Regions from separate parts of the Homo sapiens genome. Here regions 1, 2 and 3 are each linked to region 4. Evidence: promoter capture Hi-C in 16 types of primary human blood cells and fetal thymus (Javierre and others, 2016). All regions are on one chromosome and are shown on one strand. The core of a region is centred on a gene start or on the middle of the fragment in contact, and the rest is flanking DNA. Distances in the headings are between cores, read along the strand shown.

Evidence for each region. Contacts are between HindIII fragments. The CHiCAGO score rates a contact against its expected background, and 5 or more counts as called.
Region 1: a contact is called between a fragment that was not itself captured here and the fragment with the promoter of SCAT8 in region 4, in 5 of 17 cell types (M1 macrophages, M2 macrophages, endothelial precursors and 2 more). The highest score is 6.4, in M1 macrophages.
Region 2: a contact is called between a fragment that was not itself captured here and the fragment with the promoter of SCAT8 in region 4, in 6 of 17 cell types (M0 macrophages, M2 macrophages, M1 macrophages and 3 more). The highest score is 10.5, in M0 macrophages.
Region 3: a fragment that was not itself captured here is called in contact with the fragment with the promoter of SCAT8 in region 4 in 1 of 17 cell types (monocytes); the score reaches 7.0 in monocytes.

Annotation. Positions count from the first base shown.
Region 1 is chr6:63,374,103-63,379,367 of GRCh38, reverse strand. It overlaps a transcript of LGSN not described here. Among named protein-coding and RNA genes, the nearest start is that of LGSN, 57 kb to the right of the region's middle. The HindIII fragment of the contact is 169 bases long and covers 2,943-3,111 here.
Region 2 is chr6:63,318,472-63,323,703 of GRCh38, reverse strand. LGSN (lengsin, lens protein with glutamine synthetase domain) reads left to right here and starts at 3,721. Exons shown (of 4, transcript NM_016571.3): 1 at 3,721-3,790. The coding sequence starts at 3,761. The HindIII fragment of the contact is 439 bases long and covers 1,643-2,081 here.
Region 3 is chr6:63,412,262-63,417,413 of GRCh38, reverse strand. It overlaps a transcript of LGSN not described here. Among named protein-coding and RNA genes, the nearest start is that of LGSN, 95 kb to the right of the region's middle. The HindIII fragment of the contact is 1,367 bases long and covers 2,794-4,160 here.
Region 4 is chr6:63,805,103-63,809,819 of GRCh38, reverse strand. It overlaps SCAT8 (S-phase cancer associated transcript 8), which reads right to left and starts at 2,984. Exons shown (of 2, transcript NR_157848.1): 1 at 2,934-2,984. EYS (eyes shut homolog) reads left to right here. Exons shown (of 43, transcript NM_001142800.2): 37 at 3,448-3,630. The HindIII fragment of the contact is 5,141 bases long and covers 1,280-4,717 here.

The DNA of each region.
Region 1 (5,265 bases), core at 1,778-4,277, 430 kb after region 4:
GTGTCTAGAAGGAATGAAAGGATGTGCCAACAACAGCAGTTGTCTCCTCGTTTTCAAAGCTCAGGCCTCATGGTATCCCCTTCTCTTGGTTCTGTTTACTAAAACATATCAGTGCCTGACTATGCCTGAATGATCCATCTTCCTTAAGGCTGCTACACCATAACTAGGAGCTTTAAAAAAAAGGGGGGGGCATTTACTCTCTGAGGCACTCAAAAAAGCACATGCTTTTAATTGAGGGATGGGGGTGACAATGGATCATTCTGTTGATTTTAACTATCTCATATTTGTTAACAGCATCATTTCCATGGATAGCTTTCTGAAAGACTGCCTATCCACTTAGAGGTGAGGAGAAGTAATAGGGGAGGAAACCCTGCCGAGCTGCAAAAAGTTCTAAATCCAGTCCTTTAATTATCTTGCTTAAAATTCTTTATTGGCTCTTTGATACCCTCAGAATAAAGCAAACTGCTTAAACATGACTTACAAAGTAATTGCTATAGTTTGAATATTGTCCCCCAAATCACATGTTGAAATTGATTCCTAGTGTCAGAGGCGGGGACTGTGAGAGGTGTTGGGGTCATGGGGCATATCTCTCATGAATAGATTAATGCTCTGTCAGCATGGGGTGGGGTTGTGTGAGTTCTCACTCTTATTAGTTCCCAAAGAGTTGGTTATTCAAAAAGAGCCTGGCATCTCCCTCCTTTTTGTCTCTTGCCTCCTCTCTCACGTGTGATCTCTGTGCATGTGCCTTTCCGTTGCCTTCCCCATGAGTGGAAGTGGCCTGAAGCCAATGCTGGTGCCATGCTTCCTGTACAGTCTGCAGAACTATGAGCCAAATAAACCTATTTTCTTTATAAATTACTCAGCCTCAGATATTCCTTCATAGCAACACAAATAGAGTAAGACAGCCATTAATATCATGCCTATACCTGAGACAGTGGTATGCATTAAACATTACATCTGCCCCTACTTTTCTAGGTCATTATAATTTTGGGGGTGGGGTGGGAGAAGCATATGACTAGTGCTAACCAATAGGCTGTGGGTAGAAGTGATGTGTGTCACTTCTAGACTGAAGTATATAAAAGTCATTCAGATGTCTGTTCCCCTGCTGTGGTGATCAAGAAAGCCAGATGTTTCTATTGTTGCGGATATGAGATGTTGTCTCCATTACTCTAGATCCCTAAGCGTTTGTGTTCATTAGATGCTGCAGCTAAACTGAAATTCTTTCAGTTCCTTGGTCATGCTTACCTGTCATCCTTTGCAAATACTTTTCTCTTTCTAGATTGCTTTTCCATCTCTTCTTCAAGTGTCTCTTTTTCTTTTTTTTTTTTTTTTTCAAAAATCTGGTTTAATCTTCTACCTAGACCACTAAAACCTTTCTCCATATCAGCAATAAGGCTGTTTTTCTTTCTTGTTATTCATCCTTTTTCTTTTCTTTTTTTTTTTTTTTTTTTTTTGAGATGGAGTCTCTCTCTGTCGCCCAGGCTGGAGTGCAATGGCACGATCTCGGCTCACTGCGACCTCCACCTCCCGGGTTCAAGCGATTCTCCTGCCTCAGCCTCCTGAGTAGCTGGGACTAGAGGCGCACACCACCACGCCCTGATAATTTTTTGTATTTTTGGTAGAGATGGGGTTTCATCATGTTGGCCAGGCTGGTCTCAAACTCCTGACCTTAAGTGATCCTCCTGCCTCGGCTTCCCAAAGTGCTGGGATTACAGGTGTGAGCCACCGTGCCTGGCCCAAGTGTCTAACTCTTTTCTTCTCTTCTTGGTCAGAACATCACTTTCTCTGGGAAGCTTATTTTGATCTTCTAGGTTTACGTTAGGTGTTCTTTCTATAGAATTATCCTGCACTTATCACACCATGAGGTAATTAGTTTCCTGCTTCTTTATCCTTGCACTTCTTTGAAGGATTGAATGAACCAACTCCCCAGGGCTGAGTTTGGAGAGCTGGGGCAAAAGGTGGAGTGAGGGAGGCAGCATGGCAGCATCTGGAAAGCTGTGGAAAATTTGCCTTCAGGGCATGCAGTTGATGGTTACCAACCCCCATTCTATTGCCTGGTTGATTGTTAGACCTCTTACACCTTCTGGGTTGCTCTCTGCCTATTGGCTTGCCATAATTCATAAAGGATACGTTAGCGTCTATTGCCAAAGATTAAAAAAGCCAGCTGGTTTCAGAATACTAAGTGGCAAATGTTTACTATAAGTCAGATGAAGACAGGCTGTTCCCTTAGCAATATTTTGCTCTAAGTAAGAGGAAAATTAGTCTAAAATTAATTTAAGCTATAAATTATAATGTCAAAAAGAATCAGTGCATATCTATCTACTTCTTTTTGAGGTATCATTTGCACCTAAAGTAATTTTCTTAATATGGGAGCAGTCTGTTTAGATTAGAAAAGCACAAGCAAGGCACTTCAAATACTATATTTTTCTTTTGTTCTGCTTTGTTCTGGGTTTGGAAGCCTAGGAACACTCAGCTGAATTGTGTTTGGACAAGAATAGTGGCCACTTGTGAATGTAGACCATTGTTAAAATGCACTTTGTATGTTCTAGTAAAAGTTATTCACCCCAAAATCTTGTTTTAGCTAGCAAACTGACTCAATCTGAAAGTAGATGAGTTTTAAAAAGTCAAATAAAATACAATTTCCTATTTCCTTTTTTCATTTTAAGCCTATTCTCTGATGATTCCTTTCTCATATTTAAAATTCTACTGGGCTCAGGTAAGAGGCAGTCAGATAATTAAAAAAGAAGTTAAAGAGAAATGCAATAGGTGAATGTTTTCTAGAAGCTCAGAAAAGGCTGAGTGTATCCATTGCCATTTGTTTGAGTCTATTAGGGAGCTATAGTGCAGAATATTGAATCTGAGCATAGTGATTTTTCTAGATGTCAGCATCAGTAGACAGAGGGCTTGCTCTTCATCAAGGCAATCTTTACCCTTTGTAAGCTTGGCTCTGAATAAATAGAAAGTATTGATTAAGAAAAGTGAGGAAAGGGTATAATTTTGATGTTTCTTAGGTTTTAGATAGTACTCCTGGTGTTTATTATCTGCATTGCTCTCTGCTGTGAGCCCAGGGTGTTTCTTCAGAAACGTTCTGTGTTCTGCCCTTAATAAGCTTTTGGGTTAAGTAAAAAAGAAATAGAAAGCTTTTTCTCTGCCTTTGAAGAGTGTAGGAATGGTTAGAGAGACAAAACACAGAAAATGTAAGCGCAATTAGCAAGCATCGGGGGAACATGGGCAAAATAATCTGGTATGAAGTAAGGTCTGTGGAGTAAAGAATCATATATCGTGGAGAGAGCATAGCAGTGTGTTAGAACGGGTTTGGACTGCTTGGGTTTGATATCATTCAGTACTATTATATTTAATTTGTGACATTAAGAAAATTACTTAATCCCTAGGCAAAATAAAGATAATACAACATTCACTTCATTTGGTTCTAAGGACCAAACAAGATAATATGTAGAAAGTGATTATCATGATACCTACAACATAGTATATGCTCAAAAAACATTAGCAATTATTATCAATATCATAGGCAATATTTTTGATTAGGGAATTATCTCACTTAAAGGAAGTAATTTTCTACTCACTTCCTAACATGCTATCTTTCTCTCTTGTTTTTCTTATCTCATTTCCAAACTCAGCATTATCTTGACCCTTTAAAAAGTTTCTTAAAGTTGAGAAATAATAAAACCTATTATTAAAAATAATGTACCAGCCAAAGGCAAACTGCCTTAAATGCATTACTCTCTAATCTCTCCAACAACTAATAAAGTAGATGGTGAGTACAGACGAATATATACATATCCACATAAATAAGTGTTTTCATATTTTGCTTCATATATCAACCTAGGGAATCTGAATAAAAAATGTTTCCATTTATGATCCAGCTTTTCTTGCAATTTCAGTGCAAACTAGTAGTAATATTTGCCAAGAAAGATCATAATTGCTATATAATAATATAAATATAAATATATAGTAATAATAGCTAACACTTATACAATTGTTGTCAAGCACTCTTCTAATATATACATATATGTATGTGTAAGAATTAATTTAATACAATTACAGAAAGTCAAATTGATTATGAGGACCACCAATAATGTATTCTTTTGGCCACTCTATACTGCTTTTTATCAGCTCTGGATATATTTAACCCAATTTTAAAATTCTGGAATTCCTTAATTTCTAGAATTTGTATCTCTCAGTCAATGGTTAAAAAAGAAAATGATTAAAAAACAAAAACGGAATTAATTCTTGATAACATGTTTTCTTATTGCCCCGGAAAATCAACAATGACATCAATAACAATAGAGTCTTATAGCCTAAACAGAGTTCCCATGATAATTAGGAAACATTTGTGTCAAAATGTCAAACTGTCTTCCCAAGATCAGGTTTTCCTAACATGTTTATTATCAGCAACTTTTTTTTTTCTCTTTTCCAGTCACAATTTCCTTTTATTACAAGACTGTACTTGCACAGCAATATTTCCTTAAGCAAGAGATGGAGATGTTCAGGAGTAGCACATGTAATACCTGAGCTAGGTGTAGGTTTTGTTATCAGGGATACTGTGGAAGACAATAACGGAAAGGGGCCTCATGCCAAGGATGCAAGCAGCCTCTAGAAGCTGGGGAAGACAAGAAAAACCATTTTACTTTCCAGCCTCCCTGTGGATCCATTTTGAACTGACTTCCAAAACCATAAGACAACACTTTTGTCTTGTTTTAAGCCATTACATTTGTGTTAATTTGTTACAGTGGCAGTAGTAAACTAATGTTGATACTAAATGGGAGGATCATTGTTCAAATCTGGTCTTCAAATGTGTCTATTCCAACTAAAATGTGTTTATGATCCTAAGTGATGTATTTTGTTCATTTTAACATCTTGGGAATTGAGATGCATCTTAGAATCAATGACATCTTAGAATTGCTGCTGGTCAGATGGCAAAGGTGCTGTAGTGGCGTTACCCTTCTTTTTGGAACCTAGAAGCACTGTCAACAAAATTTGCAGAAGGAGTATCAACTATTTCAAAGAAAATGTCAGAAAAATATCATGGCGCTCTATTGAAACCATTTTGTTTTGAAATAATTGCCTACTTTCAGAAAAAAATGATGCAAATAATTTGCATCAAAGATAACATTTTGCCACATTTTGTTTTACCATTCTATCTGTATCTAAGTAATATATATTGGTGTTTTTTTTTCTGAATAATTTGAGAGTAAGTTTCGGGCATGCAGACACAATGCCCTTTACACCTAAATAATACTATAC
Region 2 (5,232 bases), core at 613-3,112, 480 kb after region 4:
AGAAATCAATTTTCTATAAAAAATGCTATTTATGTTAATATGTACAATGCCCATTATTATTATATTTTTAAATATGCTAATATTGATTAACATAACCTGTGTGTGTGTGTGTGTGTGTGTGTGTGTGTGTGTGTGTGTGTGTGTATATGAGGTTTTGGTGCTCTCAAGAATTTGTAGATATTATCACAATAAGTAGAATGATGCCATTAAAAGAAGGAAACAAGGACAACACCAGCTACCAATTTTTTAAAATTAATGGTGTTATAAAAATGTCTTCTGTGAATAGACAGTAGAGACTCAAAAGGGTGGAGTGGGATGAGTGATGAGAAATTACTTAACAGGTACAATGTATACTATTCCGGTGATGGCTACACTAAAAGCCAAGACTTCACCACTATGCACTATATTCATGTAACAAAACTGCACCTGGACTCCATAAATCTTACAAATAAAAAGAAATGTATTCTGTGGCACTCTCCTTCTAAAAATAGCTTGGGCTGTTTTGGAATAATTTTTAACTTATTATATGTGATTGCAAGCTCCTTATGTGCCTTGGAATTCAGAATTTCATGCTTCCACTTTCACAACTGACTTCATTTAACTTTATGAAGCTTGTGCTAAATATATAAATGCTTAAGGATATGTGAAAATCATTGAAAATGCTAAATTAAAATGATTTTAAACTAGTTTTAAATTGTATCAACTTTACAAAATAATTTTTTTCAGGGAGTTACGCTGTTTTCTACTCATTGCTTACTTAGGTTTATCGAAGGGGCAGATGAGAGGAGAAATTCCCTTTCTGAAACAAATGAAAAGGACACACAAAAATATTCTTCAGTTTCCCTGCCAATGTGTGTTTCCGCTCAGCCCTGAATTCACTGATTTTCTACCTGTCCTCACTCCAATATTTTTTAATCATCGGTTTTAAATCTTAATTCTGTAAACAGATCTACCATTTTCTTAGAAAATGAGGTATTTCTGGGAAGAACTGAAAAGAAATGGGGACTGGATTCATGAAAGGAACTTTTGGGGGCCTTTGTGAACAGGAGTTCTAGAACCACTAGGGAAGCTCAAATATTACTCCTTATAATTTTTGTATGATGTTATCTTCAATAAAGGGTGTCAATGTAGTCTTCCTGTTAGGTATGTCATAATTAGATGCATATAAAGGAGGAACAAACCCATGCAGCTTCTAGAACAACAACAAATCGGGAGAAAGGTAGGGTGGAAGTATCCTTCTGTCGTGGTTGTTATGTTCTTATGCTGACCTGAAACCATATTTTTGTGATTCATGAAGGTCATAAGAAAGATTATTTCCTTCACTGAACTTGGCTATTATTCTCACAAGTCAGTTATTCCCTTGGTCTCATTGGGCATGTTTTCACCCTATTTCCTTATCAGTTAGTGCTGGGAAGACAAGAACTTTGTATTTTATACACTGTACTGTAACATATAATATATGTAAACATGAAACAAAAACAGATTCATTGTGATTTCATTTTCTCCCACAGTGAAAGAATAGATTTAATCCTTTACCTAATTTGCATCCTTTGCTCTTCCAATCCTGTTCAATAATTCATCAGAAGGCAGTAACTTAGTGGTAAACAACATATTGTTTCCCCTTGTTGGTACTTAGTAAGCTTTAGCTTCTGCAATCTGTTCTCATGAAATGAATCCCATAATTCCTTTAATCATTTTAGTTACTCTTCTCTGGATCCATTCAATTAGATTACAACTTTTTGGCAGGAGAAGTACTTGAGTTGAACGGTCTTTCCATATGTTGTCTCAGAAGAGTGGTAAGAGAAAGACTTGTATCATTTACATTCATGGCTCAATGACTATATTCATTTTGACTAAGATAGCTTTCTGGATATAGTACAGATTGAACAAATGCTTGTGAATGAAAGTGTTTAATATGGACTTATTGACCATTTATTATTTTTCTAATCTATTTGTTAAGCCCTTTACTGACATTTGGTTTTTCCTTTGGAAAAACTGATTCTAAATAATGGTAATACTTTTAAAATATGTATCATGCTAATACCATAAATTAGGTTATACACCATATGTCCAACCAAGCTTTAGAACACTTTTTACAAAAATGGGCAAATCAAGGTTCAGGAAAGGATATTATAAAAAAATCATGGATACACATTGAGAAGAAGAGATTGTCAAAATAAGGTAAGGAAAAGAAGATGAAATGAATCAAATTGCATATTCAATAACAATAAAACTCCCAGGAGAAAATTTGGGTAAGTAGTACTATAAAGGAATGATTTTTTTAAAACATGTCCCAATATGTAACTGAACATGTAAACCAGCTTGGAGTTCTTTTCTTTGATATAGGAAAGGGAACATTTCTGAAACAAAAACGAAATTTTTCACAAAACATTTTTTTCCATAGCTCAATGGCACCTGTTTTGCATGGAGACAAGCACATGCAAGAAAAAGTTGTAAAAGTGGAAGCAAATGTGGTCTCAGAAGAGGATTGAGAAAAACTTAGGTAAGGCTCTGGTACAAGACATTGTGGGAATTAAACACCCTACTAGAGATCTGGGGGAAAGCACCAAGAGCAAGTCAAATACTAGGATAGGAGATAGAATCCCTTTTCTTGGGGAGGTTCAAGAGTCCAAAACAGCCATATTCAGGATGCAGTTTCAGGCTGGCATCAGCATCAGAACTAGGTCCAAATTCAAGATCTGGTTGTAGATCAGGCTACACAGAGCAGAAGCTTTAGAGTCAGTCATGGAACAAGTACCAATGGAATGGAAATAGGAATAGTTAATCACTGTCTTTAGGAAATGGGGCTTTTGAAATGGGCCAAGAGAGTCAGGCAGGATTGAGTGGTTGTAAGTATTGGCTTGGTCTTCCTCAGGCCCAGAAGACCAGGAAGAAGTGATTAGCCATGGAGACTATACACTTCCACATGGAAAATGCTTAGAGAGAATTTGGTTTGGTTCAGAAGAAACTGCATATCCTCCTTCATCAACAATACTTGAAGTTGAGTTGATAGCAGCAGAAGTGTGATTTCAAACCCCCTTTACTAGTGAAGAGAAAGCATTCCCTATTTCCTCTACTGAGTTAGGATTGTTTATGGGACCATATGGGGCAGCCTGTAGATGATTCTGTGTTCATTGTGCACAGTGGGGATGGTCTGGGATTTGTCACAGACTGACATCGGAGAATTGGAAAAGCTAAAGAAAGATATTTCAGTTTTATAATGAAGGTCCAGAATTAATTTGGAGGCCAGAGGGACCTAGAAAAGAAAATAAAAATGAGAATTACAAATGAGTGGATCTTTGCCATTGGTAAAAATCTGGGTCACTTATAGCTGTATTTTTCCATCTGTGCTTTTGTCTGTGGGCTTTGATAGCATAGTCGTCTAATAAGTGTTTCATCATCTGAATCTGACAATAGATATCATTCCAGAATACAATTGTTATGTAACAAAAATTCTGTATGTTGGAGAAAAAAATCAACCAACACAATTTTAAGCTTTGTATGTCTTTTGTTTGCAGGGAGTCAGGCGTAAACAAGCATTTGTCATTCGATTCTTCTAGTGCATTTCCAGCATACTGTGCCTTGGGCATGACACATCAGAATCTGATGTTTATCTTTTATTACCTGCCAGACCCCTCTGGAAAAGCCTCTATGGAATTCATCATCTGCAGTCTTTGTTGTAGGTACACATATAAATACATGTTGAATGCATTTGTTGAGGATATTGTGGTTTCTAACGCTGAACTTAAAAAGTGTTGAGATGAATAATGAAGAGGACCTTCTGCAGGAGGTATGAAGCTAATCATTAAAATGTTTTTAACCAAAATATTGACAGTAAATCTTTTTAAAAAATGTCAATTATTTGAATGCCAGTAAGAATAAGGGCAGCATAATTATACTTGTTATATGTCCACTCAGGAGAAGTTTATGAAGAATTGCCCTTCTGTACTACACAGTGAATTTATAAAGATAATAAAAACTAAACAATTCAAAATATTCATCTAGGAAAGCTCATTTGGTTTGAATAATCATTTAAGTTCAATAGGCACTGAGTTTCAGAAGCATAAGTATGCTATAAAAAAATTTATTTCTATTTTGGTTGTTATTGAGAGAATAATCTTTGTTTTTCTCAAAGCTTTGGCCTCTTTCTAATAAATATGCTTTGAGATTAAATGACTAAAGGTGGAAACCTGTTTTCAAATTATATTTGAAATGCACAGCATGAATAATGATAGCCACTTATAGGGTCTAGCATATATTAAAATAATCAGTTGTCAACATATAACATTTCTCCTCACTTCTTAATGTGTGTGTACCCAACCTTCACTCTTGTATTTCTGACTGACCATTCTGAAAGACTGAAGTGCAGACTTGGAGGCAAGCTGTGGTAAAATTTGGGAGGATGTGAGTTATCTTTAGTAGGTTAAGAAAATATAATGCAAGAAGCATACCTACTATGTGAAGAGTGCAGTGGAAGACCAGTGCATTATGTATGAAATAGTGGCATATAGAGAACAAACCTGGTCCCCACTTTTGCATGTAGTGGAGAAGATAGCTAACATCTAAGAATGGGTTCACTGATCTGTATAGTGAATACAAGCAGTTGTTTTGAAATAGAGTCAAGAACAAATGCACTTTCCCTAAGGGAAACTGGGCAAGGCTATGTGAAGAAGGCACTCCCTGAGGAGGAGCTGTGGCTTATCCTGTACTGTCATGTCACTGTTGTAGGCATCAAATGGTGGACATGTTTATGTGATTATAATGAATTTAGCTAAAAGTAAATTCATAGCTGCAAAGGAAGGCTTATAGAAAGAAAGTAAAGGTAATTAGCATATACATCATTAGCTTTTTGGGATTTTGATTTCTAACTATGTAACTTCTTGGACTAGTTTTACTTACTACTTCTGATCCCATGGCAGAACTCTGCTTTCTTCCCCAGCTCCCACAATTTTAGTCCAGGATTCCAGGTGATACAGCTCCCATGAAAGTCCTTAAAAGCCATGCCCTCCTCAAGACCAGTCTAGACCAAATGTTGATTGTTTACTCTTAGGAGAGCAGAAAAATGAACAATATGATTTTTAAACTGCACAATTCTCACAGCAAGAGACATTCTCTGTCTTTTGAGGAAAAGTTCCCTCAAAGTTGGAATAGAGCATTGTATTTACTAGATGTAATAAAGGTGAATCTTGGCTGGCCACTTGACCCAACTCCACTGAATAAGCTCTTTTATAC
Region 3 (5,152 bases), core at 2,228-4,727, 390 kb after region 4:
GATAGGAGAGTTAGTAAAACTTAGAAACTTAGAGGAAGGGCCCTGAAAAGCTGAAACTCAAACTTCAGAGTTGAGGGCACTGGTGCTGGTGTGTTGTGGGGTGGGGGTATGGGTGTGATGAGCCTGGTTTTGTGAATGTTAGAAAAATTGCACACAAGATTCAGCTGCAGCCATGGAAAGGAATTGCTGCAGCTGGGGGGAAGAAGTATTAATAGGATGATTCTCATAGGAATGGGAAACAGACAAGAAGAAGTATGTCTTTTCTTCCTCCAGCCTGTAGTCTCTCTTCAGTGCCTTCAAGGGTCAGGTGGCAAAGCAGAACTGTGGTTTGTAGGGTGCCAGGTGCAGCATCACAAAACAGGTTAAAGAAGAGGGATTTCCATGTTGTTTCACATCTGTTTTTGATAAGGACTGTGTATTTTATTTCTTTTCTGTAAGTTCGACTTTCGTTAAATGTGTGTGTGTGTGTGTGTGTGTGTGTACATACATATGTATGTACATACACTTTTAAAGTGTATATATATATTTCTTTTAAATATCTACTTAGGCCAGGTGCGGTGGCTCATGCCTGCAATCCCAGCACTTTGGGAGGCCGAGGTGGGCAGATCACTTGAGGTCAGGAATTCAAGACCAGCTTGGCCAACATGGTGAAACCCCGTCTCTACTAAAAATACAAAAATTAGCCGGGCGTGGTGGTGGATGCCTGTAATCCCAGCTGTTTGGGAGGCTGGGGTAGGAGAATTGCTGAGGTGGAGGTTGCAGTGAGCCAAGACTGCGTCATTGCACTCCAGCCAGGGCAACAGGAATGAAACTCCGTCTCAAAAAAAACAAAAACAACAACAACAAAAAAACTATGTATTTTATAAATTGTGTGTACAAAATACATAAACCACTCTATTTATGAGCAGATTCAGTTTATTTTAACCCATATTCAGCTACTCTAAGAATTTTAAATTTCATTTATTAGTGGCAGCCTGTAGGGAGTAAGGAGTGCAAAGAAAGACTGAGTTACTTGAGGGAGGATGTGATACAGGATATCAAAGATATATCTATATATTCATTATTTCTCAGTTTGGCCCTCAATGCCATCTGATGTTTCCTTGGACCATTAACTGCTCACTTCTATAGGGAATGCTTAATTCAAACATGTATGCCCGTGTTGGCAGAAGATTCTTTGTCTTAGGAGCATTTGAGACAGTAGCAATGAATCGTGCTGCCTCTAAGTAATTTTTTTTTCAGAGATGAGCCATGGAGCCAACCATTAGCTGAATATTCTGAAAAAAAAAAAGCAAAAAAAAAAGCATCTCCCTTGGAAATGGAAGGGAAAGATGAAATCTGAGATAAAGATGAAATAATCTAGGTTTATGAGCTGTCTTCTCTTCTCAATGGTCAGGAAAACAGGGAATAAGGACCTTTTGCTTCATTTTGGATGTTTTATTTTATTTAATCTATTAGATCAATGAATGGCCTCCTCCCAATGCATGCATTCTCCATGTATTTGATGGTATTAGATGTAAGAATAATAAATGCCCGGGTGAATCTAAAGAGAGTTCACATAACGCTACCTACTCAACATCTATGGGAGTACCGAATGAAAATGTGCAAAGTAAAATGCATCAACAATTTAGAACTTCATGAAGTAGCAAAGCATAATGATTGGAGAAGCTCTTTTGACTTTTAGGCAGTGGAAGTCGCTCTAGCTATCTCAAGAAATGAGGGTTGATATGGTTAGGCTTTCTGTCCCCACTCAAACCTCACCTTGAATTATAGTCCTCATAATCCCCATAATTCCCACGAGTCAAGGGAGAGACCAGGTAGAAATAATTGGATCATGAGGGCGCTTTCGCCCATGCCATTCTCATGATAGTGAGTTCTTATAAGATTTGATGGTTTTGTCAGGGGCTCTTTCCCCTTCCCTCGGCACTTCTCCTTTCTGCTGCCTTGTGAAGAAGGTGCCTTGCTTCCCCTTTGCCTTCCACTATAATTGTAAGTTTCCTAAGGCCTCTCCAGCCATGCTGAACTGTGAGTCAATTAAACTTTTTTCCTTTATAAATTACCCAGTCTTGGGCAGTTATTTTTATTTTTTATTTTTTGAAATGGAGTCTCCCTCTGTTTCCCAGGCTGAAGTACAGTGTCTCAATCTCAGCTCACCGCAAACTCCGCCTCAAGGGTTCAAGAGATTCTCCTACCTCAGCCTCCTGAGTAGCTGGGATTACAGGTGCATACTAGCATGCCTGGTTGTATTTTTATTACAGACAGGGTTTCAGGGTTTCTCCATGTTGCTCAGGCTGATCTCGAACTCCTGACCTCCTAGGTGATCCACCTGCCTCAGCCTCCCAAAGTGTTGGAATTACAGGCGCGTCCCACTGTGCCCTGTGGGCAGTTCTTTATAGCAGTATGAAAATGAACTAATTGAGGGGGATATTTTATTTTATTCTTTATTTTAAAAAGTCTCCATTTTTAAATTTTTAAAGTTTTCATTTTTAATTTAATTTTTTTTAAAGGGCGTCTGGCTCTGTTGCCCAAGCTGGAGTGTAGTGGCATAACCTTGGCTCACTGCAACCTCTGCCTCCCAGGCTCAAGCAATCCTTCCACCTCAGCCTCCTGAGTAGCTGGGACTACAGGCCCACACCACCACACAAGGCTAATTTTTGTATATTTTGTAGAAATGGGATTTGGCCATGTTGCCCAGGCTGGTCTTGAATTCCTGAGCTCAAGTGAACTGCCTCTGAAAGTGTTGGGATTACAGGCACGCGCCATCGCGCCCAGCACATTTTCTATTTTTTTAAAGCTTTATTAAGGTATAATTGATATATAAAAAGCTGCACATATTTAATATGTACAATTTTATTAGTTTGTGCATATGCAAACACTGGTAATAGCATTACCATAATCAAGGTAATAGACATAATCAACACCTCCTAAAGTTTCATTGTGTCCCTTTGGGTTTTTTTCTAAAGAATACATATCTACTCTCTTAAGAATTTTGAAGACTACAATATTATATACATTATGATGTATAGCACTTTTTCATCTAACAAAACTGAAACTTTATACTTATTGAACGACAGGTTCTCAAGGAAATGGGGGGATATTTTACAGATGTATGTGACAACAAAAATATCAAGGATCTCATAGGATTTCTTGAAAGAATAAAGACTAATATTTTTTTTTTGGCACCTCAGGTGCATCAGGCCCTGTGCCACATAGTTTATACCCAGCAGCCCATTTAGCTCTCCTGAAACAAAACAAAACAAAACAAAATTAAGACAGTATTATTATCTTCATGTCTTGAGGCTAAGATGTTGTGACTTGATCATAGTTATGAAGCAGAACATGGGAGAGGAAGTACAGTGTTTGTGATTCCAGTGGCCACTCTTCTCGACTGGCCCCCTATTAATTACAAGCCTTTAATAACAGCCACCAATACTGAATATATTGGTGAATATAATAATGAATCCTCTTGCCTCTAATATTCAAGATAGCCATGGTGATTTAGTTGAATATAAATGAATTATATATATACACATGAAAGCTAGTATATATTCTAACAATAATTACTAACTTTAAAGGATAATCGGAACTCTATTCTGTTTGCACTTACTATCTTATCCTATTAAGGCAAAATCATTTCAGATTATTAAATATGACATTAATGTAGAAATAATTTTATGGCATTTTACCTTTATATGAAGTAACTCAATTATTTGTAAAAAGAGGGATAATCATGTCACAACCTTTGTGCAATACATATAGTGGGTGGAAAATGACATTTTAGTTTTAATTAGGATAATTTGAGATTCCTGCTGAGAAGTTTGCCTAAGGTCACAGAACTACTCAGAGCTAGAAATACAGCACAGGAATCTCTATTTCTAGCCCAATGATCCACTTAGTTAAAACAGGGCTTATGCTATTCATAAAGCAATGTCATCAGTCACAAATCTGTTAAGTAAGAGAGGAGTAAAAATTAGATATTAGGAGAAACAACCATTTATGTAATAAATGTCAGCCAATCTTTCTTTTTAAATTAATTTCATAATATTGTGTATCCATTTCTTAGAAGAAAAGTTTTATAAATTTAGGAAAAGAATATAACTATTCTTGATTATCAGTTTCCTTGGTTGAAATGAAATTGCATTTAGAGTTCATTTTGTAAAGCTTCAATGGTGTCTCTAAAATTACATGTCAAATAATAATAGATTATTATTAATTATACAGATCTCCATGATAATCCATAACCTCTGTAATGTATGGTGTTGCTTTACATTTTATTAATATGAGTGTTCAACACTGGTAGTTTAATTCAGAAACTGTTTTTACTTTTTCAGGATTTGTATAATGGTTTATAGGGATTATGATACCCCATGTATTGTTCTCACCTTATTGACTTATTTTAGCACATGATTTTATGATCAATTTCTTCTTTCTAACTTGCCCTCATTTCTTTTCTTTTCTCTTTCTTTCCTTCTCTCTTCCTTTCTTCCTTCCTTCCTTTCTTCCTTCCTTTCTCTCTCTCTCTTTCTCTCCCTCTTTCTTTCTCTTTCTCTTACTCTCTCTCTCCCTTCCTTCCTTTCTTCCTTCCTTTCCTTTCCTTCCTTTCCTTCCTTCCTTCTTTCCTTTCTTTCCTTCCTTCCCTTCCTTCCTTTCTTTCTTTCTTTCTTTCTTTCTTTCTTTCTTTCTTTCTTTCTTTCTTTCCTTCCTTCCCTCTTTCTTTCTTTCTTTCTCTTTCTTTCTTTCTTCCTTTCCTTCCTTTCCTTCCCTTCCTTCCCTTCCTTCCCTTTCTTTCCCTTCTTTCCCTTTCCCTTTCTTTCCCTCTTTCTTTGCCTCTTTCTTTCCTTCCTTCCTTTCTTTCTTTCTTTCTTTCTTTCTTTCTTTCTTTCTTTCCTTCTTTCTTTCTTTCTTTCTTTCTTTCTTTCTTTCTTTCTTTCTTCTCTTTCTTCTCTCTCTTTTTCTTTCTTTCTTTCTTTCTTGCTTTCTTTCTTTCTTTCTTTCTTTCTTCTTTCTTTCTTTCTTTCCTTCTTTCATCTCTCTTTCTTTCTTTCCTTTCTTGATGGAGTCTTGCTCTGTTGCCCAGGCCAGAGTGCAGTGGGGCGATCTCAGTTCACTGCAACCTCCGCCTCCTGGGTTCAAGTGATTCTCCTGCCTCAGCTGC
Region 4 (4,717 bases), core at 1,735-4,234:
TTGCTAAGAAGTGTTTTATAAGCATAACATTTTAAAAAGATTATACATTGAGCCTATAATATAGCACTATAATATAAAAGAAAATATCACAATATTCCCTCTTTACTCAAGGCTCTTAGAATTTTTAATGCCCCGAGATGATGTCTGGATACCTTTTGACTGTGCCTGAAATGATCCCAGAGCATTAGTGATTTTGCTTTCTTCTTCTACACACTAAACAATTTATTTTAGTTTAAATTCCAGCATCTCCCTTTTTTCTTCATGTTTCCAATTCATTCATGTAACTTTAGAAGAACTGACAAAAAAATGCATGACTTTACACATGGTATCTGTGAGGCAACTAGGGATTGCAAAAATTAAAAAAATATATACATTTAATAGCCCAAAAATAGTCCCATTACAATCTGTTCAATTTCCTGATTAGATGATGACTGATCCTTCCAGAAGGCTGATCTGGGAATTTATGCAGTAGAGTAACCAAATTAACCAAATGTTACCTGGCGGAAGATGGAAAAGGGCTTAAAGTATTGAAAAGAATGATTTGTAAGGTTGAAAGTCTTCTTTCTCCTAGTCTGAGTCCCTCACGTTCTTCTGCCTAATTCAGAGTTATAGAGACAGTGTGGGTGCAGACATAGAAGCCTCTTAGTGATGGATTATATTATCTTTGACCTCTTCTCCTGATTCCTATTGCTCCCCACAGAGGCCCTACCTTTTTATAGGTTCAAAGTTACCAAAAGAAAAAGCCCCTTGAAGTAAGTCACAACTAACGGTTTAGAGGAAGAACTTAACCTATCAAAACATGCTTGGATCTCTCTGCGTTGCCATTCAATAGAAATAGAATGTGAGCTGCCTATGTCATTTTGTTTTCTAGTAGCGACATTTTTCAAAGTTAAAAGAAACAGGTGAAATTTATTTTAGTAATATATTTTATTTAACCCAATGTTTAACGGATATGGGAATGTTATTAATAATATATTTTACATTCTTTGTTTCATACTGAGCCCTTCCCACACAGGCCTAACCACAATTCAAATGCTCAACAGCTGCAGGTACCACTAGACTAAGAAATGCTGAGCATTTGACAGATCCATTCCTATGGGTCATGGTTATCATCAGTCTTCATTATTATTCTCAAACTTCAAAAGTACTTATTTTTGATAGTAAAAATTATATCATGAAATTGCACTGATAATGTATTTCCATTAGCTGTTTAAATATCACACCATTGCCTTAATGAGTTACTCATAAATTGCCTTACATTTAGATTTCTGCATAAGCTTAATTCATTGTTAGATTTCTTGATATCAAAGTTCTTATTTTCATCCTTGACCAAAGTTTGGTCCTCCAGCTCTCTGTCTAATCTATGATTCACACTTCATCAACAGAATAATATTTCTAAAAAGCAACTTTGATCATTGCCCAACTACTTTAGGATAATAAAGAAAATATATAGTTCTTCATGATTTGACCACTGTCTATCTTGTTTCATTTCCTTCCACTCTCACTTTTCTTCTTCATTCTAAAATTTGCAGACTTCATAAGTTCCCTGAGTATGACATGCTGTTTTGGTCTTCACACCCTAGAACATGCTGTTTCTTCTGCCTGAAAGTTCTTATACCAGGCCTCAACTTTCAGTCCAGTTCAGCTGAATAAATGTATTGACTTCACACTAATCCCTTGAGTGACTAGTGCTTTTTTATCTTTGTGTCACCAGCATCTAGCACAGGTTCTGACAGTAAAATACCATATATATGAGATACGTATTTGTCAATCTAGCCTAAATGTAACCTTTAGGTAGACTCAGTTGTAAATTATTAACAGGAAGAAATATTAAAAGCAAAAGATAGTCATTCCTTTTCTATTTTAGTATTAAATTTAACTGAATTCTATTTTCATAGTTTTTAATGCCAACATTGAATGATGGTCAGTATTTTTATTCTGTTTCAACTCCAGTACATTTCATTTCCCTCAATCACCCTCCCCATAGTACTACTGAAAGTGATATACCTGAGAGTGTTATTATCTCAGGGACACAAATTATAAAGTTTTCATTAGATTAAAAAATAAGTATAAGAAGCAATATGTCTCAAAAGTCCCTACTTCACATTCTGGTGAGTTTTGAGAAAATTACATTTAACCTATGCCACACATCCCAGGGAATAAACTGATAAGATTTTAATAAAATATCAAAACAAAGTATTCAGCTTCACACAAATATCTTAGTTTAATAGTCATAATAAACTGATAAGATTTTAATAAAATATCAAAACAAAGTATTCAGTTTATTCACACAAATATCTTAGTTTAATAGTCATATAAAACAAAGATATACAAGCCTTTGATAATAAGCATCATTTTTCCTAAATTATTTGCTGTATACACAATTATAAACAGACATAAGAAGCTCTTTTAAGTGTTACATACCAGAGTGAGTATATTTCTTAAGGCTTGTAAAAATTCTAATTTTACAGCTTCCCTGGAGTTCCAACATCTCTTGAGAAGGAAACAACATAAGCTCTTATTTCCTCAACCGAGCTGTCCCCAACCAATAAAAATAGATCCTAGGAACATCCCTTAATCTGGTGACATCATCCATAAAAGACAGGAATGGGGTGTCAAAATCCCCTTTCTATTTTCTGTTGTCCTCTTTGGGTAAGGAGATTTAAAAAACCAGTGGAGACTTATGAAGGAAACAGTACAATGAAAGAGAAGAGTTCGATACAAGAAGCAACCCTCAGTTAAATTCTATTTTGTTCACACTGGCCCTTGAACTTCATCTAATTTTACCATTTCCTGTTTTTAATAAATCTCCCTACACTTTCACACCAATTGAATTCCATGTTTTTATTACTTAAGAAGCATCTCAGCAAAGAAATAATGAACATTTCTTTTAGACAATTATTTTTACTTAAAGAAAAGCTCTGGTCACTCACCAATGATGATAGAAAACTGACCGATTTCCTTCCTATTTCTTGACTTTCCTAGCCCTGACCTGGGGCTTTGGCTCAGATAAAGGTGCAGGATTAGAAAAGCACAGTTTGTTCAAAGGTGTGAGCTCCTCTCTAAGTCATATCCAGGTTTTGGATGCCAAATCATGTTTACGAGGCACCTGAGTAAATACTTTGTTTGGCTGCCAGTAATCTTTTCTATTTCTAAAATTAAGTTTCAAAATATAGGGGTTTGCTTTTTAAGTAAATTATCCATTATGTAGAAAGAGTATGCTAGTGAAAGGATTATATAGAAGATCTCAAAACACTGCATTTCCTTTGTTCTGGTTTTGAAATTTCCTGTTGAGTCACTTAGTTGCTCAATGCTGAAGGGCACTAAAGTATAATTAATGTAATAGTAAACAGACTATCTGGCCAGATGCATCAGCAAAACGTAACCCTCACTTTACAAATACATGTACAGGTTTATTTTAACTGTTTGGTTTGGGTTTTTTCACAGCTATTAATATTACTCAGCCAAGGTTCAGTGGCACAGATGCCTTTGGATACACCTCATTCCTGGCTTATTCACGGATCTCAGACATCAGCTTCCATTATGAATTCCACCTGAAGTTTCAGCTGGCAAACAACCACTCAGCACTGCAAAATAACTTGATATTTTTTACTGGACAGAAAGGCCATGGTAAGATTAACTGAACCCTCTAGGACTTGCCTCGCTCCTTTAAGAATACTTTAGAGATTCCTCAGGGACACTCTAATTGGCTGTGGTAAAAAAAAGACCTTTGCCTAGATGCAGCCTCCTCCTGTTTTCTGCCTTGAGCATGTTCGCTGTAGTCCAAAGTACTTAGCAGTTCCCTGATCCTTTCTGAAGCTCTACTTTGCATCAGGGCTACTGTATTAGTCAGTTTTCATGCTGCTGTAAAGAACTGCCAGAGACTGGGTAATTTACAAAGGAAAGAAGTTTAATTGACTCACTGTTCAGCATGGCTGGGGAGGCCTCCGGAAATTTACAAGCATGGTGGAAGGGGAAGAGGAAGCAGAGTACTTTCTTCACAAGGCAGCAGGAAGACGTGCCTAGTAAAGGGGAGAATTTCTCCTTATAAAACCATCAGATCTCCTGAGAACTCACTCACTATCACGAGAACGCATGAGGAAAACCACCCCCATGATTTAATTACCTCCACCTGGTCTCTCCCTTGACACCTGGGGATTATGGGGATTACAATTCAAGATGAGGTTTGCGTGGGAACACAAAACCTAACCATATCAGCTACCTTTCATAATCAAAAGAAAAAATTCCTACAGGCAAACATGAGGACAGGGAAGGTGACCAAGTCACATGGGAAGTAAGTTTATTGATTTGTCCTTTCCTCTGTTTCTTTCTGTTTCCATGTCTGAAGAGAGAAGGGAAATTCTCATTTTTCCATGTGTTATAAAATGGAAATGGTTGTTGCCCTCAAAGAAAACCATTCTAAATTAAAGGAGCAAGAAATTAAGAAAGTACTCAGCCTGTAACAAAGTACTCTAGTGCCCTGGAATTGGTGGGAAATCAACTTATAACTTACATTTGTCTCTCTTAAGTAGAAACTAGTTATGCATGTGCTAAGTCAAGGAAAATTACCTATGTTTTACTTTTAAGTCTGCAATCAACAGTTAAGCAATTAATCACCTAACTTCTCTGAGTTCAGTGTTTTCATCTGTGAGATCAACATATTGTAACAGAAAAAGACCTTTCTCTCAGCTGTCAGTGGTTCTACGGTGCTAGGGTA